7 separate regions of the Homo sapiens genome follow, and regions 2, 3, 4, 5, 6 and 7 are each linked to region 1. The links are contacts of gene promoters, found by promoter capture Hi-C in blood cells and fetal thymus (Javierre and others, 2016). All regions are on one chromosome and are shown on one strand. The core of a region is centred on a gene start or on the middle of the fragment in contact, and the rest is flanking DNA. Distances in the headings are between cores, read along the strand shown.

The links. Contacts are between HindIII fragments. The CHiCAGO score rates a contact against its expected background, and 5 or more counts as called.
Region 2: a fragment that was not itself captured here is called in contact with the fragment with the promoter of LINC01277 in region 1 in 1 of 17 cell types (endothelial precursors); the score reaches 5.2 in endothelial precursors.
Region 3: a fragment that was not itself captured here is called in contact with the fragment with the promoter of LINC01277 in region 1 in 1 of 17 cell types (total B cells); the score reaches 5.4 in total B cells.
Region 4: a contact is called between a fragment that was not itself captured here and the fragment with the promoter of LINC01277 in region 1, in 3 of 17 cell types (M2 macrophages, megakaryocytes and total B cells). The highest score is 5.7, in M2 macrophages.
Region 5: a contact is called between a fragment that was not itself captured here and the fragment with the promoter of LINC01277 in region 1, in 16 of 17 cell types (naive B cells, neutrophils, total CD8 T cells and 13 more). The highest score is 13.5, in naive B cells.
Region 6: a fragment that was not itself captured here is called in contact with the fragment with the promoter of LINC01277 in region 1 in 11 of 17 cell types (total B cells, naive B cells, activated CD4 T cells and 8 more); the score reaches 8.6 in total B cells.
Region 7: a fragment that was not itself captured here is called in contact with the fragment with the promoter of LINC01277 in region 1 in 3 of 17 cell types (total B cells, naive B cells and monocytes); the score reaches 7.0 in total B cells.

Annotation. Positions count from the first base shown.
Region 1 is chr6:143,035,767-143,040,184 of GRCh38, reverse strand. It overlaps LINC01277 (long intergenic non-protein coding RNA 1277), which reads left to right and starts at 2,603. Exons shown (of 3, transcript NR_038987.1): 1 at 2,603-3,196. RefSeq lists an enhancer at 276-345. The HindIII fragment of the contact is 5,129 bases long and covers 304-4,418 here.
Region 2 is chr6:142,619,736-142,624,153 of GRCh38, reverse strand. The region is part of intron 1 of LOC153910 (a long non-coding RNA gene); the gene reads left to right. Among named protein-coding and RNA genes, the nearest start is that of ADGRG6, 320 kb to the right of the region's middle. The HindIII fragment of the contact is 1,497 bases long and covers 1,683-3,179 here.
Region 3 is chr6:143,442,562-143,446,979 of GRCh38, reverse strand. The region is part of intron 1 of ADAT2 (adenosine deaminase tRNA specific 2); the gene reads left to right. Among named protein-coding and RNA genes, the nearest start is that of ADAT2, 5.9 kb to the left of the region's middle. The HindIII fragment of the contact is 2,708 bases long and covers 1,237-3,944 here.
Region 4 is chr6:143,406,449-143,410,866 of GRCh38, reverse strand. No RefSeq gene overlaps it. Among named protein-coding and RNA genes, the nearest start is that of ADAT2, 42 kb to the left of the region's middle. The HindIII fragment of the contact is 7,946 bases long and covers 1-4,418 here.
Region 5 is chr6:142,674,846-142,679,263 of GRCh38, reverse strand. No RefSeq gene overlaps it. Among named protein-coding and RNA genes, the nearest start is that of HIVEP2, 270 kb to the left of the region's middle. The HindIII fragment of the contact is 4,934 bases long and covers 92-4,418 here.
Region 6 is chr6:142,709,241-142,713,658 of GRCh38, reverse strand. No RefSeq gene overlaps it. Among named protein-coding and RNA genes, the nearest start is that of HIVEP2, 230 kb to the left of the region's middle. The HindIII fragment of the contact is 1,458 bases long and covers 1,059-2,516 here.
Region 7 is chr6:142,758,970-142,763,387 of GRCh38, reverse strand. It overlaps HIVEP2 (HIVEP zinc finger 2), which reads left to right. Exons shown (of 10, transcript NM_006734.4): 8 at 1,823-1,924; 9 at 2,721-3,616. Among named protein-coding and RNA genes, the nearest start is that of HIVEP2, 180 kb to the left of the region's middle. RefSeq lists an enhancer at 1,494-1,543. The HindIII fragment of the contact is 9,901 bases long and covers 1-4,418 here.

The sequences.
Region 1 (4,418 bases), core at 1,354-3,853:
TTCTGAAATGCAAAGTGAAGTCCCCCACAGTGTCATGGTGCTAGAGAATCAACGAACTGCTATGGAAAAGAGGAGCCCCAAAACAAAAGAAGTAAAATATAAAAACATAAGAGGGAGTAGGGAATTGACATTGGTAATTTACAGGTGGTTTTTTGATGGGAATATTTACAGATTCTGAGCAAAGCTACAGGCTGTCCCTCAAAGAAAACAACAAAAGAGATCTCTATTCTTCACAGAAGACTATAGAGTGTCCCAAACACATTGCCAGTCTTCCTTTCAAGCGAGTTGCTGAATTTTGAAGCTTTATGGAGCAGGAGGTTAAAGAGCTAAACTGAAAACTTGCTGTTATCTTTTAGGGCTGGAAGACAGAGATCCACCAGGCTCTCAATTGAAAGCCCTGGAGGGCTACACCCTAAGAACAGAAGTGAATCGGAGGTACACTTAGCAAAACTGAAACCAGCTTCTGATTCAGAATAATCTCTGACTCGATTGAGGTGATCAAAGGCTATTCTACCTGCCCAACAGAAGAAAAAGGGAACACTTTCGGTGGAAGGCAATATCATCTGGACCCTTTATGGTTTTATTATACATAATGTCTAACATTTTTTAAATTACTAGATGTGGAAGATCAAGTTCATTTGCCCAATAATCAAGAGAAAAAAACACACACAATAGAAACACAATTATAGATGATCAAGATATTGTAATCAGCAAATGAGAATTTACAAATAATTTTTATGAATATGTTTAAGAAAATAAAGTGCAAAATTGATGAGGAAATGGACAATTTTCAGTAAAACTAACCTATAAAAAAGATTTCTTTAGGCATTCTAAATTTGAAAAAATATACTATCGTCAGTTAAGAAATCAATATATGGAGAAAACTGCAGTGGAAAGGATCAGTAGAGATAGCAGTGTGTCCAACAGCCAAGAAAGTAGGGTGGCGGGCATACAGATAGTGATGTGCATAGGGGCAAAAGAAGTCATAATGGGAAAGCCATGTGGAGGCAGCAGAGTGCCTGGTGTCCAAGGAAGCATGTATAGGGGGTACATATGGTGGCAGTTGTATGCTCAGCAGAAGAAGCACCAGGGAGGTGAAGGTAAGAGTAAGTTGGGGTGCACAGTTAACAATGTGTCTAACAGCCAGAAGGTGGAGACAGGGGCATGGAGGCAGTGGCATATCAAACAGACCAGGGTTTGGTGGGGAGAAGAGTTCAAAAGTGACAACTTGCCTGGAGATGAAATCAGGAGTGATGAGTTGGCCATGGCAGTACCTAGCATTTTTAGGAAATTAATTATGTAAAGGAGGATTGATCAAGAAAGTATCTATATTGAAGCTAATGGAAGCTGGATTTCTCTCTGTGGGAAAACAAATTTACAAATATGAAAAGGGGAAGCGAAAAAAATAACTCATTGCTATTGTTATGGTAAGAAGGAAGAAGGAAGGAAGGAAAGAGCAAAAGGAAGGAAAGAAGGAAAGAGTGAAAGGGAAGGGAGGAAAGAAACAAAAAAAATTATCAATGCAAGTGAATATGTCTGTGTACATATCCATGAATACATACATATATTTCAAAATTCTGACCATGGAGAGGACCTAGGTGCAATGACACCCCAGTAGCAATTAATAACAAGTATGTAGGTTCCAATTTCCATAACAAACAACAAGGACTCCTTGTAAAAGTGGATGATTCAAGGATGGAGGTAGAGAAATTTCAAGATAAGCCTGGAACGTTGGATAATAATGAACTGTGGTTTGAATGCTGGTATTTATCGCTGTCCATTTTCTGATTTGAAAGGCTTGGCAATTACTCTGTAGGAGAGTGTCTTTGGGAGAAGTAGTAATAGGAATATTTACAGATGATAGGACATAAAGGTTTCAACTTGCTTAACTTGCTCTCAAAATATTCAAAAAAGGTATCATATCCTTGAAAATACACATCTATCTATCTATCTATCTATCTATCTATCTATCTATCTATCTATCATCTTTACAAAAAGAGATGGAGAAAATATGAAACTATTAACTGAGGAATCTGGATGAAGAGAATGTGGGAGTTCATTCTACTGTTCTTGCAACTTTTCTGATAAAAATATTTCAAAGTAAATTATTTCAAAATTAAATTTAAAAACTCAATATATGAGTTTAACAATAGGTTGGACACTATTGAATACAAGACTTGTGAACTGGAAACATATCAATGAAAAATATACAAAGTGAAGCATGGAAGAAAAAAAGAAAGAGAAAAAATAAGAAACAAATGTAAGAGACATACAGGACAAGTATGAAAGGTCTACCATGTAAAACTGAAGTTTCAGAGGGCAAGGAGAAAGAAATAGAGCAGAAGCAATATTCAAAGGGATAATGGTTGGGAATTTTCTAAAGCAGATAAAATACATTTAACCCACTGGTTAAGAAGCTCAGCAAACCCTCAAGCAGGATAAGTATAGAGAAAACCACAATTATGCAACTCACAATAAAACTGCTGAACCAAAGACAGAGAAGATGGAAAAACCAGCCAGAAGAAAAAAGACACATTATCTACAAAAGAGCAACAATGAGACTGGCAGCTGTCTCTAATAGCAACAATAGAAGCCAGAAGATAATGGAATGCTATCTCTAGAGTACTGAAAGAAACTAAAGGCCAACGTGTGAAAAACAATCTTCAGAAATGAACGTTAAATGATGACATTTTCAAACAAACAAGCAACAAAAAGAAGCAAAAAGTAAACAAAAAACAAAAATTCACATAATTTATTGCTAGGAGTTTTACACTGAAATGCTGAAGGGATTTCTACTAGCAAAAGTAAAAATGATCTCATTTGAAAAGATGGAAATTCAAGGAGGGAATGAAGAATACTGGATGGGTAAATGTGTTGGTAACTGTAAATGAATACTGACTACACAAAATTATGTTGAATAACTGAAAGATGAAAACACAATCACTTGAAGGAGAAATGTATGGTCAAACTGCATGCAGGAAAAACTTCTATAAAAGAGTTACTTCATGCTCTGGGTTGGCAGATACAATGAGCAGGAGTGCATCAGAAGTAATCAAGAAGGTGATTAGTTGGTGTACTTCAGCAGGAGCAACCAGATGAATTGGCTTCTCTATATCCCCGTATTAGCCACAAGCTAGGCAGCAGCCTGCAGGTGGGAGCAATGCCTATGCATGTATGGATCAGTGTGCTACATACAGTAAGTACAGGATGGTACCAGTTCCTGGTGAGAGGACACAGATGAATAGAAAAGAGACTGAAATGATATACAATAAGCCAGTAACTAATGTTGCCACTAGAGATGGGGTTAGAGGAAATAGTTTTGTCTACATTATATAAATCTTTCACAATAAAAATGTATTCATGTGCTACTTGTATAATTAGAAATATATTTGAAAATGAATAATTTTGTATAGGAAATATATGTTTGACTCCATGCAATAAATACTGACATCAGCATCAAAATAAAGCATTTCTAAAAATCACCTGGAAATAAAAATAGTCTTCTAGATAACTCTTGTATCAAAGAGGAAAAAAGAATCCTGATAACATAATATAATCTTGTGAATTGTAACCAAATCTTACCTTATGAAAAATTTTGTTTAAAATAACATAAATGTATAACTCAGGAAATTAAAAAGAAGAAAATAAATCAAAAGAAAGTAAAAGAATGTAAAAGCAATGACTTAAACATGAGAAAGCCAAACATTACAATTTATTGATAAAAACAGTGATCTTGTATTTGAAAAGTTATAAAAACAAAACAAACCAATCAATCCCTAGCAAGTCTAGCCAAAGGAAACCTAAGAGAACACAAATACAATATTAGAAAACAGAAAAGGTATAACCAAAGGAAATTATAATTTTTAAATAAAATTTTTGTACTTTTCTGAGTATAAAATTTTAAAATAGATATTTTTAAGGAAACTACAAACAACCAATTTGCCTGAATAAAATATAGGAAGCCAAAATAGATCAATATCCATAGAAAAGTTGAAACTTTTGTAAAAAAAATACTGTAAAATGGCTCTGGGCCATGTTCATTTTCTCAGAAATTTTTACCAAATACTGACGAATAGTTAAGTTCTGTAGTACTTAATTGTTACAAAGCTATAGAAATCATAACTTTGATACAATAAACCTGATAAATATGTCACAAAACCATGGGCCAATCTATCTAATAAGCACAAATAAAAAGTCTGTTATGAAATATCAAATCCAACAGTATACTAAAAGAGCAATACACTTTACCTGATCAAATTTATTCAAGAGTACAAAAATTGTTCAAATTTAGGAAATATGCTAATGTAATCTTGGTAGATGCTAAAGGACATTTTATAAATGTTAACGTTACTTTTGATTAAAATTCCTGGTGTGCCAAGGGAAAAGCAGACTTTCTTAACTTGGTAACAAGTATTTTT
Region 2 (4,418 bases), core at 1,182-3,681, 420 kb after region 1:
TTTGTGGAATGTGTGTGCATCAAGAATTGAAATAAACACATTCAAGTTTGTTCTGTGCAGTGTTTCCACTGTTCTGATAAGAACAAAATAAATACGCATGTAAAAACTATGAAATATGAGGTGTTTGATTTTAGTGATTCTGCATACACATCAAATACTCTTACATTGGCATTTAAAACTCATAGCACAATATAAAGCTAAATGGTAAAATTCACTCATAATTTAACTTCTGTTTTGTTTTGTTTTTTGGAGATGGAGTCTCATTCTGTCACCCAGACTCTAGTGCAGTGGCATGATCTTGGCTCACTGCAACCTCTGCCTCCCAGGTTCAAGCAGTTCTCCTGCCTCAGCCTCCCGAGTAGCTGGGACTACAGGCACACACCGCCATGCCTGGCTAAAATTTTTGTATTTTTAGTAGAGACGGGGTTTCACCATGTTGCCCAGGCTGATCTTGAACTCCTGAGCTCCCAAAGTGCTAGGATTACAGGTGTGAGCTACTGAACCCAGCCAATTAAAAATTTTAATTTTAATTTACTTAGAACCACATTAAACAACATTAAATATAATTTAAAACCCCATGATGAAGAAGGAAGGAAACTTTATATTATTTTAGTGCCTTCAATGACTCTTTTCCTGCTTTTTACCAATGAACCCTGCATTTTCATTTTGCACCAGCCGTGCAAACTACGTAGCTATACCTGCTGAACCCAGGTTAGAATACATTCTCTTCACTTGCAAGTCACAATGCCTCCCTGAGCTCTGGTTTGATGCCAGAATTGAGTGGTGATGATTATTAGCCTACAACAAGGAAACAATGAAGCCTTGTTTAAATAGTTTTCACTTTATCTAAGTTGTCATAATCATAATTTCATAGTAAGTATTAATACACCCAAACTTGCCCATCTTTCGTCTGTTCTGGTTTTTAATTAATTTATCTCATAGCCCTGCTCATGAGACAAAATGAGGTAGTGTACAAGCAACTCATAAGACAGTTTATGTTAATTACTGCTGTTTTGGCTTGATTGTTGAAACGTGGTTATCTGCTGTTGAAATAAAAGAGCAGTTCTTTGTCTCAGCTGGAAACAAATGATTAGGATATAGGATGCCTTTTCCAAAGAGAGGAGCTTTTCAAAGAGCACATTGTCATTATTTTGGGAGAATCATTCTGAAGAGACAATATTTGCTCTTTTTTCTTTTCACTTTCAATGCTATTAACATAAATTTGAAAAGATTTTGATAGGCATTCACATCTCCTATGAGGTAGCATATGAACCTGGATACAATTTAGTTTCCAGAACAGTTTGGAGCATTAGCCTTGTGTATCAGCTTGTTAGGGCTGCCACAATAAAGCACATACCAAAAACTTAGTGACAGTCTTAAACAACAGAAATTTTTTCTCTTAGTTCTGGAGGCTGGAAGTCTGAGGCCAAGGTGTCAGTAGGGTTGGTTCCTTCTGAGGGCTGGGTGGGGAATCTGTCCCATGCCTATCCCTTACTTTTAGTGGTTTGCTGGCAATCTTTGGCATTCTTTGTTACGAACAAGCCTTACCCTGATCTCTGCCTTCATCCTCACATAGCATTCTCCCTGAACACGTGTCTGTGCCCCCAACATCCCCTTTTTATAAGAAACATCCCCTTTTTATATAACCTGTCATATAAGGTTAGGGTCGAACCTAATAAGCTTGTTTTAACTTGTTTACCTCTGTAAAAACCTTATCTCCAAATAAGGTCACATTCTCCGGTACAGGAATTAGGACTTTAATATATCTTTTGAGGGGATACAAGTTCTTGGAAATATTAAACTTGGCCAGGATAAGGAATCAAAATCTTCCAGTCTCCATCTGTCTCTCTGGCTTACTATTGAATTCTTCAGTGGAGGCCAGCCTGTAGAGGCCTCATGAGGCTGACACTGAAGTTCTCCTGGTGACAAAGATTAGAGAAAGTTGTGTCCTTCTACTCCAAGACATTGGTCGCCTGAACAGAAGGTCATGCCCCTTTCATCCCACCACACCGTAGTTTCAGACACATGTGTATGTGTGTATGTGTGTGTATTCAAAAGGAGTCAGAAGGACTTGGAAATGTTGCAGCAACTTCTCCCCAGAGTACAGTAGACTTGTGTGGACACCAAATACCACTCCTATCACATGGTTTGATTAGGTTATCTGACAGACCATGTAACAGTCCCTGAAACTTGGAGGGCATTCAGGAGTTTTTTGTTAAATAAATAAAACTAATGAGAGGGAGCTCTGTTTCTTACATACTTTCTCCAACTTTTTACTTCCTTATCTTTTTTCACTGGAGTCTAGACCATGAGTAGAGGGTGGGGATGTATTTATATGTTTAGTTCCTGGTCCACTGTCAGTGGGGTCTACCATTATCCCCATCCCTTGTACTCACAACTCACATGCTTTCCATAAAGAAGGTTGATGCTTGCAGTGCACAGCCAAGTTTACTTGATATAGACCGTCTAGCTTTTTCCTACCCTTAGAAATTGCTTGGACTTAGAGCAATGATTATGCAAGTGTGTGTCTGTGATCTACCTGTGACTGAGGTTGACAATCTCCTTTCTATCTCACTATTTTGCTGCCTAAGCCTTTTTGCTGACTTTGGGTGGCAGGACAGGTTCTTCACCAAACCCCACTTTTAGACATCTATTCCAAATTGAAGAATGAAGTCAGCATGTTATTTTTCAACTTAGTTTGACTTCATGAATGGGAAATAGTTTGAAGGCTTTTTATATGCTAATCTTAGTCTAAATTGAAAAACTGTTCACAAGTTTTATTCATTTACTCATTCATTTACATGTATGTATTTGCATATTCTCTTCACTATATCCATTTAAACACAAATATATTTATACTTCTTATAAGTGAAGATTAGACACCAAGATGAAGAAGGCAAAATACAGTTTCCTAGGTTCGGGGAACATCCAGGCAAAAATATTTTTCAGGATGTTGCAAGTATGGGTCTGGAGTTCAGGAAAGATATTTGAGACTCAATTCTCTCAAGATGATGGCTTGACTCTTGATATTAAATGAGATTACCAGGGAGAGAGTGAAGACAGAAGAGCAAAGAAAAGGGACAAGAGATAAATCATTATGTTAGGCCAAAAGAGACAAAATTATTCAACTTATTCCTGATTTGGTACTTTGATGTCCCTTTCTGGAATTTAAACAAGCTTGACTTAGTGTTAAAATTAAACCACAGTCCTATCTCTTATAAATTTTGTAAGTTTGTAAATCCCTGAGAAACTTCTACTCACCATGACTGACATCCTCATAGCCTAAGCTGGTTATGTCTTGAGAGCCAGGGCTAAAAATAAAGGCTAAAACTTATGTAGTACTTTGTCTTGTACTAGACATTAAACTGAACAATATTTACATGTGTAATATCATTTAATCTTCAAACTAATGCTATAAATCTATCAATTATCTCCATTTTACATATAAATACCAGGAATGATGAGGTTAATTTGTCTAACATTAAATAACTGAAAACTGGCAGAGTGCAGGTTCACACCCTCAGCATCTCATGTGAGAACGTGTGCTCTTAACTATTGCTCAGAATGGCCTCCCATGCCTGTGTCCTGAAGGTTAAGGCAGAGTCTCATTCACTTTTCTAATCTCCTGCTCAGACATTATAGAAACCAATGAAAAATAGTTATTATTCAATAACTATTATACAATGGCACAGACTTTAATTTGAAAGGGTTAAAGTGAAGATTTTTTAATATAAAAAGGAGGATAGGCCGGGTGTGGTGGCTCATGCCTGTAATCCTAGCACTTTGGGAGGTCGAGGCGGGCGGATCACGAGGTCAGCTGATCGAGACCATCCTGGCTAACACGGTGAAAACCCGTCTCTACTAAAAATACAAAAAACTAGCCGGGCGTGGTGGCGGGCGCCTGTAGTCCCAGCTACTCCGGAGGCTGAGGCAGGAGAATGGCGTGAACCTGGGAGGCGGAGCTTGCAGTGAGCCGAGATCGCGCCATTGCACTCCAGCCTGGGCGACAGAGCGAGACTCCGTCTCAAAAAAAAAAAAAAGGAGGACAACAAAGTAAGCACAGACCCCTGGGTAAACTAGCATTCAGGTCTTAAGAAAAGTCAGGTGAAATAACCTAGTAAGTCAGTAAGTTAGGGCTGTGAAAAGGTGCTCAGATTGTCTTTTCCTTTTCGTATTAATAACAGCTATCCCAGACCTTTACCTCATCAAAGGTCACAACTCCATCCCTGTCCCCATCACCCTTACAACTCCATCCCTGTCCCCATCACCCTTACCGTGAACCCACAGCAGGGGAAATCACAGAGTCATTCATGGGAAATGCAGGCTGCCAGTGTATGATGTTTTCAGCTTTCCCCATACTCACCTTCCTTAGGGCTTATCTAGATGGTTATCCATCCTTCTGACCTTCCTATTTTAAC
Region 3 (4,418 bases), core at 1,341-3,840, 410 kb before region 1:
GTTCAGCATAACATTCTAAAGATAGGCTTGGAAAAAAGAAGTATGACTAAGTAATAGTGTTGCACTCTTGGTGTGTTCCAGATACTATGCTATGCACAGTGTTTTCATGTGGGCCATGTTATAAGCCCCACAGAAGCCCTATCAGGTGAGTATTATTATGGTCCTCATTTTCAGATGGGATATTGAAGCTGAGAAAGTTCAGTAACTTCCCCAAAGTTAGAGAGCTGGGAAGGATGGGGCTGTGATTTGAGGCCTGTCATCTGCTGTTAAATACTGGCCTGGCCTGCCTCTCGGTGTTAGGTAGCTCACTGCTTGCCAACATATCCTCTGCTCTCTTTCTTCCTTTTCAGTTTCTTTACCTGAATACTGTGTATCTACTGTGTAATTTAATTGAACATTTAGATTTTTTTCTTCTGTGAATTGCCGAGGCATATACTTTCCCCAATTTTGTAATAGTTTGATTTAAAAAATCGCACTGTAGGAGCTCTTTGTATTTTACAGCTGTTTCTAGGAATAAATCACAAAGAAGCAATATAAATATTTATATAGAGAAGTTCTTTACTTGTTTATAATAGTGAAGAATTTGAATCACTTAAATGTCAAATAATAGGAGACTAGTTGGTTGAATCAGATATGTTCATAAGGAGAAATACTGTACAACCTTTACAAAATCATGTGATGAAAAAATATTACCCAATATAGGGAAAGGTTAACAATACATTTCTAAATGAAAAGGGCAGACTGCTGAACTGTATATACAGTGTAAATCTATTTGACTTTTTAAAAACTGTAAATATGTGTATGCAGGGCATAGGAAAAAACAGAAAAAACCCCCGTTGCTTCAGAATAACAGGGATTATATTTTGGGGTATTGGGATTCTTAGTGGGTTTTTTTTTTTTGATACATGAGGTTTTTTTTTTTTAATCGCTAAGTTCTCCACCTTGAACACATCTTACTTTATAATTAGGAAAAAAGAAAGATTGACTAACTATCTATACATATGTGTATAGAAAAAATGTTGCAAGTTTTCTAGAAAAAAGTCAATTGTATTTTTTTATAGTGTGCATTTTTGGGGCAATTGATATTAATATAACATTATGCTAGGCTCTGAGGGAAATTCGAAAAGAAAGCAAACACCACAGACACCATTTCAACAAATGTGGTATGATTAAGTTTTTGCTATGTGTTAGACCTTGTGCTGGGTGCATAGGCTGCAGAGGTGAGCAAGAGAAGCTTCGTAGTGCCTGGATCTAGTGCTTGCCTTCCAGGAACATACTGTTTAATTGATGAAATTAAGTCAGGCACAGATGAAAAGGTTGGTAAGTAACATGTCCAAAGACCACAAGAGACAGATATAAAGTGCTGTCAGATAACAGCTGGCAAGGTCCTTCAACACGTCCGTTGAGATAAATGATAGAATTCCTTCTAAATTTTAAGGGACCAAAAGGATGTGGGCTGGTGGAAAGGAAAGGTTGATCCAAGCAAAGATACTGTCATGTCCAAAGAAATCAAGAACTTTGTTTTGGGTTAGAAGGAGATCTATCTATCTATCTAGAACAGGGCTCCCTGACCTCAGGCTCAGGTTTAGGGGGATCTATGAACGCTGAAACTATATATAAAATATTATGTGCGTGTGCCTTTTTCAAGTGAGACAGTCCATAACTTTCATCAGTGTCTAAAAGGGGATTTCTGCTCTGAAAAGGTTAATAACCTAAATGAATAATGAAAAGTTAGGTTGGTTCGGTTGGCCAATGGGAGGGTGGGTGATAGTTGGGAGACCTTCAGTGCCATATTGAAGAATTTAAAGTTGATGGAATAAAAACATTATCACTTTTTAAATCCCCAAAGTTAAACTATATAACTGTTTCTGCTAATTACTCAGAGAGTAATCACTCAGAAGAGAGTAATTAGCAGAAACAGTTATATAGTTTAGCCTTTTGGACAGGATGATGTTCTACCTGAGAGTTCTGGCTAACTTGTTTGTTCCCCCTAATTTTTTGTCTTTATAGGAAATATTTCTTTAAGGACTCATCAAACTGTGTGCAAACAAGGTCTGTTTCCATCTCTCCCCCTTTTATCATGACATCACTAGAAAGCAGTTTATAGTAGTAATGTCTTTGGAGAAAATAATAAACTACGAAGTCTCTTCCATCTAGGTGCTTTCATTATCTGTATCTGGGCAGGCCCTGACTAGAGAAAAAAAAGAAATTATATTCAAGGACAAAATAGAGACCAGTGTTTGGGCTGGGAAGAACAGAGATTTTATTCTTTAATTTTGAAGGTTGATCATTTGTTACTTTATGAAAAACCTTGTAGCCATTTTTAAATAGTATCTGATCTTGGTCTTTCCCCCTAAAAAAGGCAAGAAAGGTTAAATTCAAAGCTACCTGCACAAATTTCAGACCCATTTTGCCTGAGCTTTTTTGCATTTGTGAAGAAGTGATCAGACTTGACAGTAGAGTTGTTGGGAGAGTTTGAAAGTATGATATGGGTATGGGGTGAAATTGATTTCCAGCTTAATTAAATCTATTGTGAACTTGTTAGTGAAGCAAATCTACATGTTAATTGTTGTAAAGGAGTTCCCCTCAACTCACTTCCATGGGGCTTTGTGTTATTCTCACCGCCCCCTCCCCTGCCTACCATTCCAGTTGCTTACCCACTCATCCTCAGCATGGCAGGCTCGGCCATTCCTCAACAATGACGTTATTTGTCCTTTTAAAATATTCCGATCGCTCATATTTGCTCTCTGTTTCGGACAGCAGTGGAAGGCATTTCAGGAAAAAAAACTGTGTTACTCAAAATAAACATGAAGATAATATTGAGAGGAGTGAAATGAAATAAATTTGCTAGACGGAAAAAGAGAAAAATCCAAAGGAAGGAATGGAAGGCACAAACCCAGTAACATGGTGGCGTGGGTGCTATCTCCAGGTGAACAAGACAGAACTTGCAGGCAACATGGAATCTCATCTCCCATCCCACTCACGTCCTTTCCACTCGGCCCTGCATTCTCTTCTGCAGGTTTGAGATGGCCCACATAGCCAATGTAGAGCTCTTCAGGAGATATTTTTACAGAAAATCCTGATCACATGGCCTCCATTTGTTTATTCTCTTGCCGTTTTTGTTTTTTTTTTTAACTTTTTTTTTTTTTAAGACAGAGTTTCACTTTGTCGCCCAGGCTGGAATGCAATGGCACAATCTGGGCTCACTGCAACCTCCGCCTCCTGGGTTCAAGCGATTCTCATGCCTCAGCCTCCCAAGTAGCTAGGATTACAGGCACCCATCACCATGCCCAGCTAATTTTTGTATTTTTAGTAGAGATGGGGTTTCACAATATTGGCCAGGCTGGTCTCAAACTCCTGACCTAAGATGATCCACCTGCCTTGGCCTCCTAAAGTGCTGGGATTACAGGCATGGGCCACTGTGCTCAGCCTATTTTTTACTTTTTTTAGAGATGGGGTCTTGCTGTGTTACCCAGGCTGGAGTGTAGTGGCATGATCATAGCTCACTACAGCCTTGAACTCCTCTTGCCATTTTTTTTATCCTTAAAATTTCCATGTCTCACTCTCTTGCCAACTGTTCTCTCTCATTTGGTCCCTTGATTCACTCTAAACTCAAACCCTGATAAAGCAGCTGATCGGTGAAGTGTCTGTTGTTACTAAAGTAGAAGTTAGAGGCAGAACAGTGGCAGAGAGCCCTGGAATCTGGCCCTTGGTAGGTGCTCCACAAATGTTTGTTGAACAAATGAATAAGTGGAGCCAGGTTGTCTATGCCCTAGTCCCAGCTCTCTCACATGCGCTAGTGAGAGATATATACATGTATAAAAAAAAATCTCCCTGTGCCTCAGTTTCCTCATCTGTAAAATGGGGAAGATCATTATAGGCTTGTAAATGAAATGAATTAATACTTATAAAATGCTTAAATTAGTCCTGGATCAAAGTAAGCTTTCAATAAATTGTAAGCTCTTATGTTCAAGCTCTCAGAACCAGAATACTCGAGATGCAGACAAAACATTACCTCTCTTAAGAGGTTTGTTGGGGAAAGTATAGCTGGAGTTAAAAATTTAACCTCTTAGATAAGTCACTGTTCAAGCTACTGGTTTTCATCTCCACCATTCCACCTAAATTGCCACCACCTTGCTGAATTAGACACACTTGACCACCCTTCCTTCTTGGCCTAGTGTTTTTCTGGGATTGTCCGTAACACCAAATATTTCTCTAAACTCACTAAACATCTCTTTTTAATTCCCATTGCAAAATCCTTTTTGTTTACCTGTACTTATTTTTTAACTTTCATTTTGAAATAATTATAAGTTCACAAGAAATTACAATAATAATATACTGGGAGGACCCAAGTGTCTAGTGTCCTTCAGTGGTAACATCTTGCATAGCTATAGTTCAGTATCAAAACCAGGAAAAAT
Region 4 (4,418 bases), core at 1,347-3,846, 370 kb before region 1:
TTGCTCCAAAAGAGGCCATGAATCACGTTTTAATAAAAATAATCACTCACTATTTATCTATTTTGTAAGTTTAAAATTTCATGTCCTGGATTTACTTACAATGAGCTATATCAAACCTTTAGAAACATAACCTATGGGGTATCTGCCTGTCGTTAAATAGGGCCTTCAATGCATAGTATATAGTTTGTTCAAGGAGAAGTGAACTAGTCATTGATGTGGCTCATTACAACAATCACAATAACAACTATTCATTAGTCTGTTTTCACACTGCTATAATGAAACACCGGAGACTGGATAATTTATAAACAAAGGAGGTTTAATTGACTCATGGTTCTGCATGGCTGGGGAGGCCTCAGGAAACTTACAATCATGGTGGAAGGGGAAGCAGGCACCCTCTTCACAAGGTAGCAGGAGAGAGTGAGTGCTTGTGAAGGACGAACTATCAAACAGTTATAAAACCATCAGATCTCATGAGAAGTCATGCACTATCATGAGAACAGCATGGGGAAACCACCCCCATGATTCAGTCATCTCCCACCAGGTCCCTCCCTCAACACGTGGGGATTATGGGGATTTCAATTCAAGATGAGATTTGGGTGGGGACACAGCCAAACCATATCAAACTATTATGAATTCTGCTGGTTGAGTTTGTAGTAAGTTCTTTACAAATATCATCCATTGAATATAAATAATCATAATATAAATATAGAGATAATTGCAATAAATAACGTAAAGTAGATATTATTATGATGACCCATTTTTCAGGTGAGGAAACTGAGGCTTAGGGAAATTAGGTAACTAGCCTGGCATCACACAATTAGTTAAGTTACAAGGTCAGAGTCGAATCCACATCTGGATGGTTCCAAAGCCCGCAGATTCACCATGCATTGCTATTTTTTTTTTTTTTTTTTGAGACGGAGTCTCACTCTATTGCCCAGGCTGGAGCACAGTGGCTCGGTCTAGGCTCACTGCAAGCTCCGCCTCCCTGGTTCACGCCATTCCCCTGCCTCAGCCTCTGGGGTAGGTGGGACTACAGGCGCCACCATGTCCGGCTAATTAATTTTTTGTATTTTTAGTAGAGACGGGGTTTCACCGTGTTAGCCAGGATGGTCTCAATCTCCTGACCTCGTGATCCGCACGCCTCGGCCTCCCAAAGTGCTGGGATTACAGGCGTGAGCCACTGCACCCGGCCCTGATGTGCTGCCGTTTTATCTCTTCACTCCTACCACACGGTGGCCAGCAGTGTGCGGGAAAAAATTTAGTGCTGCTTTGTCCCAGCTGCTTGTTCAGACCACATGGTGCCTTAGTGAGCTCACAGCTCTGGCCTTGGCCTGGTGACCACCTCGATGTGACCCTCCTAAAGTAAACACTGCACACCTCAGGTCTCATGCTGCCCTGCTGATGAGTGGGCTCCTAATATGCTGAGTCATTCTCAATGCCCTTCTGCCAGTCTTGACTGCTTGCACTCCAGAGGGTTGCTTTTGGCTTGCTGGCCCTGGCTGCAATTTCTTCCTGCCAGCTTTGGCATGCCTACCAAAGGGTGTATTTCTTACTTGCCTGATGGCTGTGGTACAGCTCTGGGCCCAGAAAACCCATTAATTTTTAGTATTTATTGAGTATCTCCATCACCTCCCATGAGATCTCAGTCGCATCCTTGGAGAGGGGCCACTTCCAAATTTGTTTATTCTTTTTGTACTCTCAGCTCTAGAATATTCTTTAGGGCTGTCTTTACACCTTCATAGTTATTTCCCTGTTCATAATGAACTTCTCTATTCAAATTACTGCATGACTTGTGCCTCCTGGCTTGGATTCTTGACTGATACAAATTCCATTTTGGATTTCTTTCATCATCCCTGTTGATTTTGTCTATCTATATATCTTGAGCACATAAATCACTACTATGGTTGCCAAAAGTCAGAATTTTATAAGAAGGGTTACTCAGAAAAGAGTCACTCCTCTGCCCCCCACTATCCATTCTATCCTGCTCTCATTTTCCCATCCTTTCCAACCCAATTCTACCTATTTCTTGTATGTGACTAGGAGTCATTCCCTTCTCCTTGTATGTGACTAGGAGTCATTCCCTTCTCCTTATGTGTAACTAGTCATTAGTTTCTGGTTTATTTTTTCTCTATTTATTTTTGCACTATTGAGCAGATATGTGTATAATTTCTTATTTCCTTTTTTTCTTACACAAAAGATAGGCTTTTCTATTTTTTCACATTTTGCTTCTTTCAATTAACAGTATACCCTAGTAAGCACAGCATATCAGTTCATAGGCATCCCTTATCACTCATTTTTTATGGCTGCATAGTACTCCACTGAGTGTACTATAGTTTATTCACCTACTCTCTTAAGTATTCAAGCTCTTTCCAACCAATATCATAATAAATAACCTGTGTATATGTATTTTTGTACTTTTAGAGATGTATATTTAGGGTGGATTCCTAGAAGTAGGACTGCTTAGTTGAAAAGTAAGTGGATGAATCATTTTGTTAGTCATCACCAAATCCCCCTCTAAAAGGGTTGTGCCAATCTGTATTCCCACCAGCAATGCATGAGAGTACCTGTTTCCCTCTATTCTTGCCAACAGAATGTGTTGTCATACTTTTAAATTTTTCCTTATCTGATAGGTGAGAAATGCAATAGTTTTAACTTGCATGTCTTTAATTATGGGTTGTTTGAATATCTTCTCATAAGTTCAAATGCCATATATATGCTTTTAAATGAGTTGTCTGTTCATGTCTTTTTTTCTATTTTTCAGGTAGCTTTAATCATTTCCCTCGCTAAGAATTATTTGAATATTGAGGATATTAACCCCTTATCCATGTTATAAATTATACATATTTTTCCCTTTTGACTTTGTTTATGGTTCTCCTGCAATAAAAATGTTTTAATTATTTTATGTAGACACATTTATCAATATTTAATTTTTCTGGATTTTAAGTCCCTATATCAAGGTTAAAGAAAAATTCACCCATATTTGCTTCTTGTATTTGTACAGTTTAAATGTTTACATTTAGATCCCTGATCCATTTGGAGTTTATTCTTGTATATGGTATGCAGTACAGATTTTATCTTTTTCCAATGGCTACCGCATTGGAAATTTTCCCCACCTCTGCCCTAGCAATACCTGTTTAGGATACACCTACATTTCCATGTCTTGGGTCTCCTTGGGGACTTTTTATTCTATCCCACTGGCCTATTTTTCTATTCCTGTGGTCAGGCCCAGACTGTGTTAATAGAGGCTTTCTAGTATGTTTCAGTGTCTACCAGAGCATTTCTCTTCACAGTTGTTATTTTAATTGCTTTCCTGGCTATTCTTGCATGTTTACCTTTCCATATTCATGTTAATAACAACTCGTCCTTGATAGTTAATTTTATGTGATACCAAATTGAGGAAGCAATTCAGGGACCCAGAGATACATTCCCATTAACAATTAATAATTCAGCCAATGGGAGGTCATGCAGAGACCTGGGCCCCAGAAGAAGATTGAGGACAAAGCACCAGTAGCGCAGATTGGGGTGAAGAAAATTATAGAGGTAGGAGGCAAACCCCAGGTAAGTACCGTAACTGGAGTCACAGTTGGCTAGAACATCAAGATAAGAAGGTGAGAAGTGGTGGCCGTGCCCTGAAGAGAGGAAGGAACCATAGCCTTACACCATGGTGGGAAAGGGCCAGTAAAGATGATGTAGGAGCCCATTTGTACTAAGTCCTCAGGTGAAGTGAATTTACTTATTCATTAAGAAGAAAATATTCCCAGCCCTCTTTTCAAATAGTCAACAATATAGCTTTCAAGAGTGTTAAGTGTATTTATGCTTTACACATATCTGAAGTAAGGTTTGCTTTATTTTATCCCTAGAAAAATCTAAGTTTTTTTCTTGGAGTGTTCAATAATTTGAAACTAAAAATTTTAAAAGCATTTCAAACAGCTCCTTTACCTCCCCTGCCCACGCATTTACCAAAATAAATAAGGCCACCATGCAAGCCACTCTCTGATTTGCATGGCAGTGAGATCTGATGCAAATTCTCACATTTTAGGCCATTTCGGGGTTTGTGGAAACGGCAAAGGGTTCCTTTCTTTAAATAGTCCTGGGCATGATACCCTTGTCCAGGATATTTTGACATTACTGTTACTGCAAAGTAAACACATTTGAGGAAATAAAATGCTAATGATAAAATAAAAATTTGGGGTGGTATCAGGTTTGGTTTTTGCTGTAAGAAAACATCCCAGTCTTGAGTGGAGAGTTAGAACTTGTGGCCTGGCTGTCGGCTGTGGCTCTCACCTCACTCCCATCCTGCTCCCTGCCATAGAGGGCTGTATTGTTCCTAACCCCCCAACATCCCCTACACACATTTCACTTCTTCCTCCTTCCAACCCCCACTGCCCCACAAAGAAAGCAGGATTGGATGCCCCTTT
Region 5 (4,418 bases), core at 1,309-3,808, 360 kb after region 1:
GAAGCAGAGTAGGGATTAATTTGCATAATATCTCAGGGGTTCTAAAGGGTAGAACCCATATTTGAGCCCAGATTTTTCTCAGTCAAAAGCTTTGTTCTTTACACAACCAAACTGGGTTCTTTTCCCAGAGAGGATCTCTTCTCCTCTTGCTTGGATATGCGTGGCCGGGGTTCCTCCTTCAAGTGGAGTGGGGTGGGGAGTCACGAGCCCATGCTGCCCCATGTTTTCTTCTATGTCAGCTCCTCAGCTGCAGATGTCACTTCATCTGTCTCTGGTTGTTGGTGGAGGGACAGTTGATTGAGTTGTTGACTGTTACTTGATTCTTGTAGTCGGGCCTCATTTTGGAAGCACACATGTGGCACAGGGAGGAAAGTGGGAGTAACCAGGCAAAGAAGGCAATCCTTCTTAGATGCTTAGGGGTCACTGTGAGAACTCAGTCTTGTTACACTAGAAGGTCCTGGGAGAGGAGTGGGTGGATGAATTGTAGTGCTCTGAGTTCAAAAGACAGAACTGACTGGGCTGAAAAGGAGAGAAGGAAACCGGAGGCCCAAGAAAGTGTTACAGCCTACCCCATCATACGCTTATATACAGAGCCCCAGAAGGAGGATAGCTCAGGGGCTGGGAGAGTGGACTAAACATAAATGCCGAGCTCAGTGTCCTTGCTTGGCATGGAAGCTGAAACTCCTCTTGGGCTTGGGAAGCAAGCACGCCAGTGATGAGCACATATGAACAGAAGACCAGGTGCCCTCACCTAACACTGCCAAGTGCCTAGGACCACAAGGAACTTTGCTTGACTGGGAAGGTGGGAATGAAACCCCAAATAATGATCATGATTGGATTTTTCATAAAGAAAAAGAAAGAAAAGAAAAAAAAAGAAAAGGAAACTTGTAATAAATTAAGAAAAGAAATAAATGTGACATTTATTGCACTCTAATTTTTGTGGACTAAATTTCATATGCACTATAGAAGCATTACTTTGGCTAAAGAAAATGCATTGTTAAATAGATAGATATAGCTGGAAGAAATTTACAACCTAATGTCCATGATCAAGCACCTCGAGAGATGGGCAACCAGGAAGGCACACAGCTCACCTTCAATGATCCCTGCCTGAGTTTTCAGGACATGCTTTTCATCTTCCCATAAAAGTCCATATTGACAGATTCTGCAGCTCTATCTTGCTCCCGTCCTTGCCTTAAGAACTTGGATTGGAACCTGTTAGCACATAAGGTTGAAATCATTTACTAAATATTTTTCCAAAGAGAAGAAAGAAGCACTTAGTTTTGGTAGGAGAAAAAAATCAGGCCCTCTTCCCAGGTGGGTCTTGTTGTGTTAGATGCAGACACAGAGGCCCAAGGTCACACCAAGGAATTATTCAAGGTCAGCAAGATGGTATGCTATGCCTGACAAAGGGCCAAGTTCATAAAAAGGAGAGGCAGGCAGGAAGTACTTTACTTATGTCACCATTCATCGTAGGAGCTGTGCTGCCCAGAGTGAAGGGTGTAAAGAAGCTGAAACCATGCTCCCTGAGATGCTGGATAGTCTGTCTCCAATAGTTAGTAACATTGAAAGGGGGCAACTAAACAGCCTAAGCAGGCTTACCAAGGTTACACTTGCTAGGGACAAAAATCTCATCCCCAATTTTTACAACAATGACTCTTTCCAAATCGTAACATCAAGGAAGGTGTGATTAGTTAGCAAAATTTCATATCGTGGAAGAGATTCTTCAGTGCAATCGCTTCATTATATGGGAAATCTAAAAGAAGAAAGGAACAATAGCAAGAGCTTTAGTTTTCTATAAAGGAAAAGATAAATCCACCTGTTTAGTGAACCTTTGATAAGCACTCAGCTTTCTCACCAGCTGAACACTGATGGAAACGGGGAATGTGTCTTTCTCTCTATCCCTCCCTGTGTCCTATTCATCCTTCCCAGCCCAGTCACCTTTCCCTATCTTCTTTCTCTTTCTCTCTCCCTTTCTTCTTCCCCTCTTATTTCATCATTCTTTTCTCTTTTATATCATTTTTCTCTCTCTCTGTGGATAACCTCACCTTATTCAGAATTTCAGCCAGCTGAGATGATAAATGAATTGCTTGATCAACTGATGCATAGATGAGAACGTGTGAAACCAAGTCAGAAAAGAGAGAAATGCAAGGAATCAAGTTAGATATCACATTTGTGCCTTGGAGTCCTCTGCATTCTCAGTGGGGATTGCCTCTTGACTCTGAGCTTTCCAAAGGCCAATGTAAAGCAGGAAGCGGGAAACAGGACTGTGTCACCAGGCAAGAATAAATCAGTGGCTTGTCTAGTGAGCACTACATGCAGGAGCACATCTACTGTGGGCACTGAGACCGGAAAGAAATTGCATTTTGGTGTTTTCAACATTGAGTCTTTTCCAGAAAAATCTTGTTAGGTTTTGAAGAGGAAACAATTATGGCGCTGACTCCACGTGGTCTCTTAACAGAGGGGACAGAATTCCTTATTCACCAAGTCCCAGTACTTTCCAGGTTCTCCTGGCATGGAGATTAGTATGAAGTTGCTTGTGGGGTTGCAGGTAGAACTACAATAGACTGTAGCTGTCTGCTAAATTTCACAGAGCTGTTTGCTTCTCTATGGCAGTCAATATGTAAAGGAATGCCAGGACTTATTTGGATATGAAACAGTCATCTTGAAAAGATTCAGGTGTTGAATTTTGAAGAAATAATGCTCTAATTCTCAACATGTCACTTAATACTTTAAGAAAGGTAATATTAACTTGCAGCATGTGATTCCAAGCAGAGCGGAGCCTTGGAGTGTCTGCTGCTTTCCTAACCATTCTTAAATTAAGGCTCTGCAATCTGTTACATAAATCTCTATTTTCTTATTTTAGGTTCAGCCAGCATTTTGCTAGTGAATAAATCAGACATCCCAGATGTCATTTCTCCCTGACTAGATATAAATCACAACCAAAAGGCTCGCTGGGTTTGCCAAAATTGCTTCACATGTCAACGGAATCTAATGTAATTGCCCCAGGTTTCATCCTCCCTCCCCGTGTAAGGAATAAAGAGATCATTCGCCATCAGTAGGGGATCAAAGAAAATTCAAGCCCCTCATTGAGCAATGAAACCCTCCCCCTGAGTTTTTATAGTCTGTAAATGGATGGGATGCATCCCTTGCTCAGAGGACATGGAGAAGCTCCTGGCGTTGATGCTTTTCACATGAGAGATGTCATAACTGAGACATTGAAAAAGATCAACTGCTTCACAGGACTAGATGAAGAAGTGGAGCTTGTCCTTATCGCTCGATTTCTTTATTCGCTGAATTAGCCAGAGAAGACTACTGCTGTCAGAAATCACCCCACACCTCAGCGGCTTCACACAGAGTTGTATTTCTGACATCACTCATCCAATGTGGGGCTCTGTTGCCCTCAGTTATTCAGAAGTCTGAGAGAAATGCAAGAAATCAAGTTAGATATCACATTTGTGCCCAACGGCTCCACCATGCCCCAGCGCCTCCTGAGAGAGCTGCCCTTGATCTGCTGCTGGGTGGCCCTGGGAGAGGCAGAGCATGTGCAGGTTTGTGCAGGGAGTTTTACGGGTGAGGCCTGAAGTGGTGAGCACCACTTGTGCCCACGTTCCGCACAGCCCAGAACTCAGTCTCATGGCCACTGCTAACTGCCAGGCATGGGTGGCAAATGTGGCTTATTCCTGAGCTCAGAAGGAGAAATGAGTTTGTAGACACCTGGCCAGCTCCATCACAGATGCCAGACTCCTTCCCTTTCCTTCTCCTTCCCCTTCTACACTTTTTCTGCTTCCTAGAGTTTACTCAGTTTTAGGGCTCCGGTGAGAAGCCGCCATTTTCTACCCCTTTCCGAAGGTCCCTTAGTTGTCTGGGAGCCAGGACTTTGCACTGGAATAGCTAACTCTGTGTTGGACAGGTAGTCTGGAAGAATATTTAGAAATAGTACTTTTCAAATGTTTAATCATTAAGCATTAAAGTGTGGGAAGGAATAATGTATGGCTGACACGTGTATTATTTTCCACAGAAAAATGGCAAAGTTTCTGACATGGTCTTTGCCATGTCAATATTTCATGGAAGTGAAGTATTTCCAAAATGAATTTAGCCAAATATTTTCAGCAGACATAAATATATGGAGGAAGCTCTATGTAGTCTAATTTATTATTTAGCAAGAGACATAAAGTGTATGATGAACAATAAACAGTAATATTTTAAGTTCAAAGTTCCTACTTTAAAAATGATTTTGCTACTTCATGAAGAATGTATTTCAACTTTCTGTCTTTACCTACCCTTGGTGATCAAAGGCACCTGGCTGATTATTATTCAAAAAGAGAAAATTAGAAATTTAAATTTTAGAAAGAAAGATATGTCCACCTCCTCTATCACTAATGCCTACCTCAGTCATTCATTTTTCTGTTATTACGGGG
Region 6 (4,418 bases), core at 538-3,037, 330 kb after region 1:
AGAGTGAGACCCTGTCTCTTATGAAAAAAAAAAAAAAAAAAAAAAGGATTCAGTTGAGAAGAAATATCCATTACCAGAAGAGTCTCCTTTCTCTTTACCTGGAGACAGAGGCTGTGAGAAGAAGCAAGAGGGATTCCATTGGGGACTCATAAAAAACAATGGCATATGAGAACATTCTCTTTTATACTCATGGTGGTGAAAGATAGGTGTCTTTTCAGTGAGAGGTTCAAGTCTTCCTGAGAGATGGGGGTAAAATTAGCTGCTCCTAGAAGTGGAAGCAGGGGTCATGAGTGAGAGCTGGGTGGTTACCTTTCAGGCAGAATTCTGGAGACTGTTTCACGCCGAGAGCAAGACCCACTGGAGTAGTGAGGCTTTGAGGGTTGGAGCATGGCAGCCACATGCTCCTAGCACGGTTCTGTTGGTGATGTGGGTCACTCACCACTTATGTTTGCTGAGAAAGGGTGCTCTTCAAACAACAAAAAGTGATCTGACAGAGCATCACTTTAGTTGATCGGGACCCAGTAATCTTCCTTTCCCTCTCATTCTTCCTTCCTTATCTTTTGGGTTCTTTTGAGAACCCTCTGACTCAGTGGTCCTTGACCTTGGTCATATATTAAAATCATTTGGAACATTAAAAAAATACTGATGTCCAACTCTCACCTGCGGAAATTCCTAATTCTTTTCAGTTGAGTCTGGGCAGCAGTATTTTTTAAGGCCCCCCAGGTGATTCTAATCCACATCCATGATTGAGTATTGCTCCTAGTCATTCATACTGCAAACCAAATACAGATTTAAAGCTTAGGAGAATCCTTTTCAGCATGATTCTGTAGGTCCATGTATATCTGCATGAACAAAAGATTCTGATCAGTAAGACCATCCCAATTGGCTTTAGTAGCTTTCTTCACTAGAGTTTTCTTGACCAGATGCAGTTTGCATTCTGTTCAGAAGCCTTGCCACAACTCTATGAACACTTTTAACAAATATCAAATATACAAGAAGCTCTGAAATCTACTGGCTTATAAGGTGACTTGCCATCTTGATGTTTCTGATTGGAAGCTTTTTACAAGGACCATTTAGGATTCATGCTGCCTCTTTACTAGTGAAAATGTAGGCTGAAGGTTACCAAACACATCCAGAAAGAATTTCCTTTGGCTCAAGATTTCAGTCCTTTTCTTACTCTCTCATTTGCTCAAGATTTCTTGGGACTCATTATAGGATGGAACAATTCCACTCCCACATTCTCACTTGGCATTTAAATCCTAGGTTGTCATCGAGACATATCCTAATCACTAATGCATGCAACAAGCACACCAGTATTGTTTTTTTTTCCCTTTCTCCTTGTTGTGTGGTGAATAGAAAATGTACAGTTGGGGAATCAATCAACCTCAGTTCTAGTTCCAACTGTAGCTAAATAGCTATGTGACTGTGGGACAATCTTCATTTCTTCATGAGTTTCTTACTTGTAAAACAAAGGAGTTGGACTAGAATCTCTGGTTTTCAACCATTGTTGTTTTCTTTTTGTTGCTTAAAGTGAGAGTGCCCTTTCTTCAAAAACATTCTTTCTGTAAAAGTCAACATGTAAAACTGATGGTCAGAAAGCTGAATTGTTGTGGGGCTTTGGGGTCCCTGAAATCTTCTGAGTTTCCTCATTTTCTCCTCCTAAAGCTACTCTGCCCTTAAAGGGGTTCTGTAGGACCCCTAGGACAAGACAAAGAAGATCTAAAAAATACGGGCTAATTAGTTAAGGTATTTTCTGCTGTATCATTCTCCGAGTTTACATGCATCCACACATGAACATATGTGTGCACATGAACATATATCCACAGGCACACAGAGTTTGATTGATTGGGCTCAAGAGGTAGCAGATACGGTCAGACTAGGAGGGATCAGGATTTGGAAACTAGGCATATTCACTACAAAGAGAGGGGTTCTTGGAGCAGGCCCTTGGAAATGCATTGTGCCTGCTTCTAGGGACAGCAGGGAGTAAAATGCACTATGCCATCCATAGTTTGGCAACTGGCAGGTGCTCAATGGTCTGCTGGCTCAAAAACTTGTAGCAGATGACATCCCAAAGTGGTGACTTCATGACTGGAATTCTGGGATAGCATCCTGGAGAAAGATCTGTGAGGAAGCAGGCTTGAGACAGCTGGTTACTCAGGAAGTCCATGATCAATGGAAGTTCACTGCCATTGGAAGAACCATTCCTCAGGTCTCACATATCCCACACAGACTGGTAACTTCCAAGTAAGTTATACATCCTTTATAAATAGCAATGATACATAGCATGTCTCATCATCTCCCCTGGACCTTCAGGATATTTCCATGATTTTAAATGCTTATCTGAGGGACAGCTGCTTAGCTATCAATTGATACTGTTGTCTCAAAAAAGATTTCATAGGATTTTCTTTACCCCATAAGAATGCCCATTCCCAATTCAGAGGGGATTTCAAAAAATAAGGAAATGACTTGGGGTTAGACATCCATTTCCTTAACACAGACATATTTAACTTTAAGCTTGCTGAATCTTAGATATTGGTCTAATATGTCTGGGATCCTCCTAACTCCAAGTGAAGAGGCCTAAAATTTCTCTATTTTTACTGGAAAAAAAGAGAGAGTTTGACTTTCAATGCCATACTTTTTTTTTTCTTCTTTTTTTTGAGACAAAGTCTTGCTCTGTTGCCCAGGCTGGAGTGCAGTGGTGTGATCTCGGCTCACTGCTACCTCTGCCTCCCAGGTCCCGGTTCAAGCAATTCTCCTTCCTCAGCCTCCCAAGTAGCTGGGATTACAGGCACATGCCACCATGCCCAGCTAATTTTTGTATTTTTAGTAGAGACAGCATTTCTCCATGTTGGCCAGGCTGGTCTTGAACTCCTGAACTCGTGATCCACCCTACACGGCCTCCCAAAGTGCTGGGATTACAGGCGTGAGGCACCGCGCCTGGCCCACCATACTCTTAAATAAAATCAAAAGCCATCTCGAGACTATTTCTTTTGGAACCTTCCTATGCATCAGGCTGCATAGTCTGCAGAGTGATCCGTGCCATTCACGTGATGAAACCATTGATAACTGGCGTTATTCAAATAAGTGAGATATCAGTCAACACTGTTTAATATGGTGTTTAGCACCCTTAAAAACAATTAAACCCAATGGATTTCAGGCCAAAACAACAGTCTTGGAAGATCACTTTAGTTAGGGCCCAAATAACTGAATTGAAGTCAAGAAAAGGCTGGCCTGCCAAGAAGTAACAGGTGATTATGTAGGAATACGATTTGAAGGGCTCTGACCTTCCAGTGGCAACACTGTGTGAGTTTGTTTTCTGTACCCAGGGGACCGAGTGTCAGGATCCTCACTGTTGAGTGCTGGATAGAATGGGGGTGGCAGGGAGTGTACCATTATTTTGGTATGCTCTCTCTTAGTAGTTGTAAAGGGGAGATGGTAGTTAATGACTTCCTACTGGGATATTGGTTGCATTAGGCTTCCATCAGCCATTGTGGAAACACTAAATGGGGTGTGAATGAGGTAGGTAGGCTAATGAGGGGGATGAATAAGATACATGGTAGTGCTGCACAGGGCAGAAGACGAACTTGGGTTAAGCTCAGGCTAATTTCTAGCAATTGTCTTGACCCTTAGTCTTAATAATTTGATGAAGGACATCCTTGTGCTGAATGTTGGTAAAGAGACAAAGGAAATGGCAGAGGCCAGGTGCAGTAGCTCACACCTATAATCCCAGCACTTCGGGAGGCCGTGGCAGGAAGGTTGCTGGAGCCCAGGAGTTTGAGACCAGCCTGGGGCAACAGGGCAAGACCCCATCTCTACAAAAAAATTTTTAAAAAAGCTCAACATCACTGATTATTGGAAAAATGAAAATCAAAACCATAATGAGATACCATCTCACACCAGTCAAAAAGGCTATTATTAAAAGGTCAAAAAATAAGAGATGCCAGCAAGTTTGTAGAGAAAAAGGAATGCTTATACACTGTTGGTAGGGGTGTAAATTAGTACAATCATTGTAGAAGACAGTGTGGCATTTCCTCAAAGACCTAAAAACAGAAATATCATTCAACCGAGCAATCCCTATTACTGGGTATATACCCAAAGGAATATAAATCATTCGATTGTAAAGACACATGGATGCATATGCTTACTGCAGCCCTATTCACAATAGGAAAGACATGGAATCAATCCAAGTGCCTGTCAATGATAGACTGCATAAAGAAAATGTGATACATATACACCACGGAATACTATACAGCCATAAAAAGAATGAGATCATGTCCTTTGCAGGGACATGGATGGAGCTGGAGGCCATTATCCTTAGCAAACTAATGCAGGAACAGAAAACCAAATACTGCATGTTCTCACTTATAAGTGGAATCTAAATAATGAGAACACATGGACACATAGAGTGGAACAACACA
Region 7 (4,418 bases), core at 537-3,036, 280 kb after region 1:
TTTCACCTCCGACTGAAATGCCTGTTGTCCAAACCCACATTGTCGTCTGAGCACAGATGGAACGCCCTTGCATGACCAATCCCTTCTCCTTGTCTGTGCCACTTCTTCAGGGGCCTCCCCCGCCACTCTCCTTCCCTCTCCTTGTCCTTATACATTACTTCTGCAGCTCATGACTTTAACAAACTAAAGCCATGGTAGAATTGTTTCAGATCCAGATTTCTAGCTACAGACCTATTCTGAAGATGGGAGTCTAAAGCCTGACTATCCTTGGAATGGAGAGAAAAATGTAGGAGAAAGAAACACATACTAAAATCTAAATAAACTATCCCGATATGCTTAGCATCTATACCTATACACATCCATAGCGTACTTGCACTCTGGCACAAGTGATGATTTTTATTAATTTGTAGATACATTTCATTAATTTTCTAGATTTAAGCATTCTTGATATGTCTATAACATTTTTGGGCTCTTTAAAAAATGGTAGATATAAGTTTTGATAAATAGGAGGAGTGGGGGCCTGGAAATATTTCTGTTTGGAATTATTCAAAACAGCATGTAAAATTTATAAGTATATAAGCAATAAGTAAATAATAAAGCAATATGAGTAAAATAATAAACAACAGTGTCCCAGTTTTAACTGTGGCTCATATATTACATGAACAGCAAGCTGAACACCCCTACCAGAGGAATAAACTGTGCTAGCAGGCTGAGTTTCCACGGAGATTTCACAGAGCCTTCTCTTAAAGTATTTGTTGGTACATTGCTAAAGCGTTGTCAAGGGCACAGATAACATTATGGCTATTTTCACTGAAGTGATGTAAAGGCGCCTTACAACTGAATTAGTTCCTGAATCTCTTTTGATAAGTTATATGGCATATAATTTATATGTATGTGTGTGTGTGTGTGTGTGTGTGTGTGTGTGTGTGTGTGTGCATTCTTCTGTAGATCCTGGGTCAACGAGGATTGGAACAATGTTTTCAAAATTTCTCACATTTCATAAAGCAGTTATACAAATTATATATATAATTTATATCCACACATGTATATACACATATAATTGTATATGCCATTATCATTATAACATATTCAGCATGAAACCTTTCTTTTTTGTTAGTGTGATAGGAGCCTGAAGATAAGTAAAGAGGGAATGTTGCTGCTCCAGAATTTTAGGAATTGCTGTCATAACTTTTGCTAACATATGCCAGACAGATAGATGCTAAATACTGGGAATAATGCTCCCTATGAGTAGTTAGCTAATTATTTGTATGGATCTTTCAGAGCACTGACAAGGTTGGCCCTCACATTAGTTTGTATGTATTTTTCTTCTGAATGGTGAAGATCCTTGGAGGTTACTCTGTACCTGATCAGTCACAGAAGGTCAGGGGCCCAGTGGGTGTGTTGAGAATATTTCATTCTGAAGTATCTCTGAGGTGTGTGGCCAGATTGCGTTTCCTGTTTCTGTGGAGTCCCAGGAGGCTGGTGTATTTGGGTAGATATGAGGTCCCTTCTCAGGCAGAAAAGCCTGGGATTTCTAGTCTTGCTTTGAGCCTACTCTTGAAAAGATGTGAGCCTGGACTTCCACATATCTTCTAGAATAAAGAATATCTGAGATTGGGCCAAAGCTCTCAGGGATTGATATCTTCAAAGACCAGATTATTCTTCTTAAGGTTGAAACAAGGGGTAGTGGGTAGAAACAAATCTGTGTTACATGATGAATTTAATAAAATTAGTTCATTTCACATTGAATTTGGAGCAGCTATCAGCAGTTATTAATTTGATAACCAATTAATTTCTCTCTTTTTTTTGCTACATTTTCAAGGAAACCTAACGAAGCATATGAAATCTAAAGCACACATGAAAAAATGCCTGGAATTGGGAGTCTCAATGACATCGGTGGATGATACAGAAACTGAGGAAGCAGGTGTGTATGTCATAAATGAGTTGACAGACCTCTTCATTATGCACAGTGGAGCTCTGTGGCTGAGGTAGTAAAATAAGTTTAGATATTTTTAAAAAGTGATCACTTTTCATTTTATTAAATACTAAATATAGAAAATAAAACTGACACATTGAATTGCTTGAAATCTACTGAGAAGAAATGCATTTCAGTTTTGACTCCGAGGGCAAAAAAGGCCTTACTTTGAAAATACTTATATTTAGAGCCTTCTATGAAGGGAATAGAATTGCACTTGCTTTGTGATAGCAAATTAGATTTTATGAGGCTTTTTGGGGAATTTGAAAAGCATTTTAATGTATTATTATTCAAGTTAAGAAGAAACCCAGTAGGAAAACAAATAAACTAGCAAACAAACATCATTAAGGTTGGCCAGACCTCCTGAGTTACATCACTTAGACATACGTTTGTACCTGAGCTTGCAGAGACAGGTTGTTGCCTTTCTTTCTCCTCTAGCATCATAATTAACATTATCCATGCTCATTTGTTGAGGGTTTTCTGTGAGTGGGATGATGTCTGAGATATAAAGTCCTACTATGGAATCTTTCTTGTAAGTTGGGGATGAAAACAAATAGATATACAAGAAGATAGAATGAACGCAGGGTCACACAGGTAAGTGCCTCATTTTATAGGAGTTCTCAGACATAACTATCTGTGGGCACTAGGGATTGGGAAAAGCGTTTAGAAAGAAATGAGGCTTAAATAAGATCCTAACCTTGATATTTGGATCTTGATCTCCATTATCTTTGTTTAATTGTTTCAGAAAATTTGGAAGATTTGCACAAAGCAGCAGAGAAGCATAGCATGTCCAGCATTTCAACTGATCATCAGTTCTCCGATGCTGAGGAATCAGATGGTGAGGATGGAGATGATAATGATGATGATGATGAAGATGAAGATGACTTTGACGACCAGGGAGATTTAACACCAAAAACAAGATCAAGAAGCACCAGTCCTCAGCCTCCTAGATTCTCCTCCTTGCCTGTGAATGTTGGCGCCGTACCCCACGGGGTTCCTTCAGATAGTTCCCTGGGACATTCTTCGTTGATCAGCTATTTGGTTACTTTGCCAAGTATTCGAGTTACTCAGCTTATGACACCCAGTGATTCATGTGAAGATACCCAGATGACAGAATACCAGAGGCTATTCCAGAGCAAAAGTACGGACTCAGAACCAGACAAAGACAGATTGGACATACCTAGTTGTATGGATGAGGAGTGCATGCTACCTTCAGAGCCAAGCTCCTCTCCCAGGGACTTCTCACCCTCAAGCCACCATTCCTCTCCAGGATATGATTCTTCACCCTGTCGAGATAATTCACCAAAGAGGTATCTGATACCCAAAGGAGATTTATCTCCCAGGAGACATTTATCACCTAGGAGAGATCTGTCACCCATGAGACATCTTTCACCAAGAAAGGAAGCTGCATTGAGAAGAGAGATGTCCCAAAGAGATGTTTCACCAAGAAGGCATTTGTCTCCAAGGAGGCCAGTGTCTCCTGGGAAAGATATCACAGCAAGAAGAGACCTCTCTCCTAGAAGAGAGAGAAGATACATGACCACAATAAGAGCGCCATCTCCCAGAAGGGCTTTATACCATAACCCACCATTGTCCATGGGACAGTATTTGCAAGCAGAGCCAATTGTATTGGGGCCTCCTGTAAGTATAATCCACTTTTCTTTCTAATACATAAGTGGAAGCACATTGGTCCTCCTGATAATGCACTGGTGTGAAGTTTAGTAGAACATGGGTATCTGTCATGGGTGGAGTGAATCTGGCTAATGAAAATAGCGGGGAGACATTTTTGTCATATGCTATTGTCAGTAACATGGCTGTGGCATTACCTAAAGTGTAGTATTGCATCAGAGCAGCAGTGCATTCCCAGTGGGAACAGGTGAGGCCTTTCTGAAGGCTTTCTAAACTTAACTAATGATAGACGTAAGCTGAAGCCTTTTTGTAAGTAAAAAAGATGAACCTTTAGAATGCCATGACTGCATGGACATACACTCACAGGGACATTTAGGCATCACTTATATAACTCATCACCAGGTAAGGATTCTGATTCAGCTGTTAACCTTGACTTTCCAAAACTTTTATTTTTAAAATTTTTATTTTATTTATTTTTTTTGAGACAGGGTCTCACTCTTTCACCCAGGCTGGAGTGCAGTGGCACGACTTTGGCTCACTACAACCTCCGCCTCCCAGGTTGAAGCGATTCTCCCATCTCAGCCTCCCGAGAAGCTGGGACTACAGGCGTGTATCACCACACCTGGCTAATTTTTGTATTTATTGGTAGAGGCAGGGTTTCACCATGTTGGCCAGGCTGGTCTCGAACTCCTGAACTCAAGTGATCTGCCTGCCTCGGCCTCCCAAAGTGCTAGGATTACAGACATGAGCCACTGCGCCTGGCCTCAAAAACTCCTTTTTTTAATAAACTCTACCTTGCCCATCATGAGGGGAC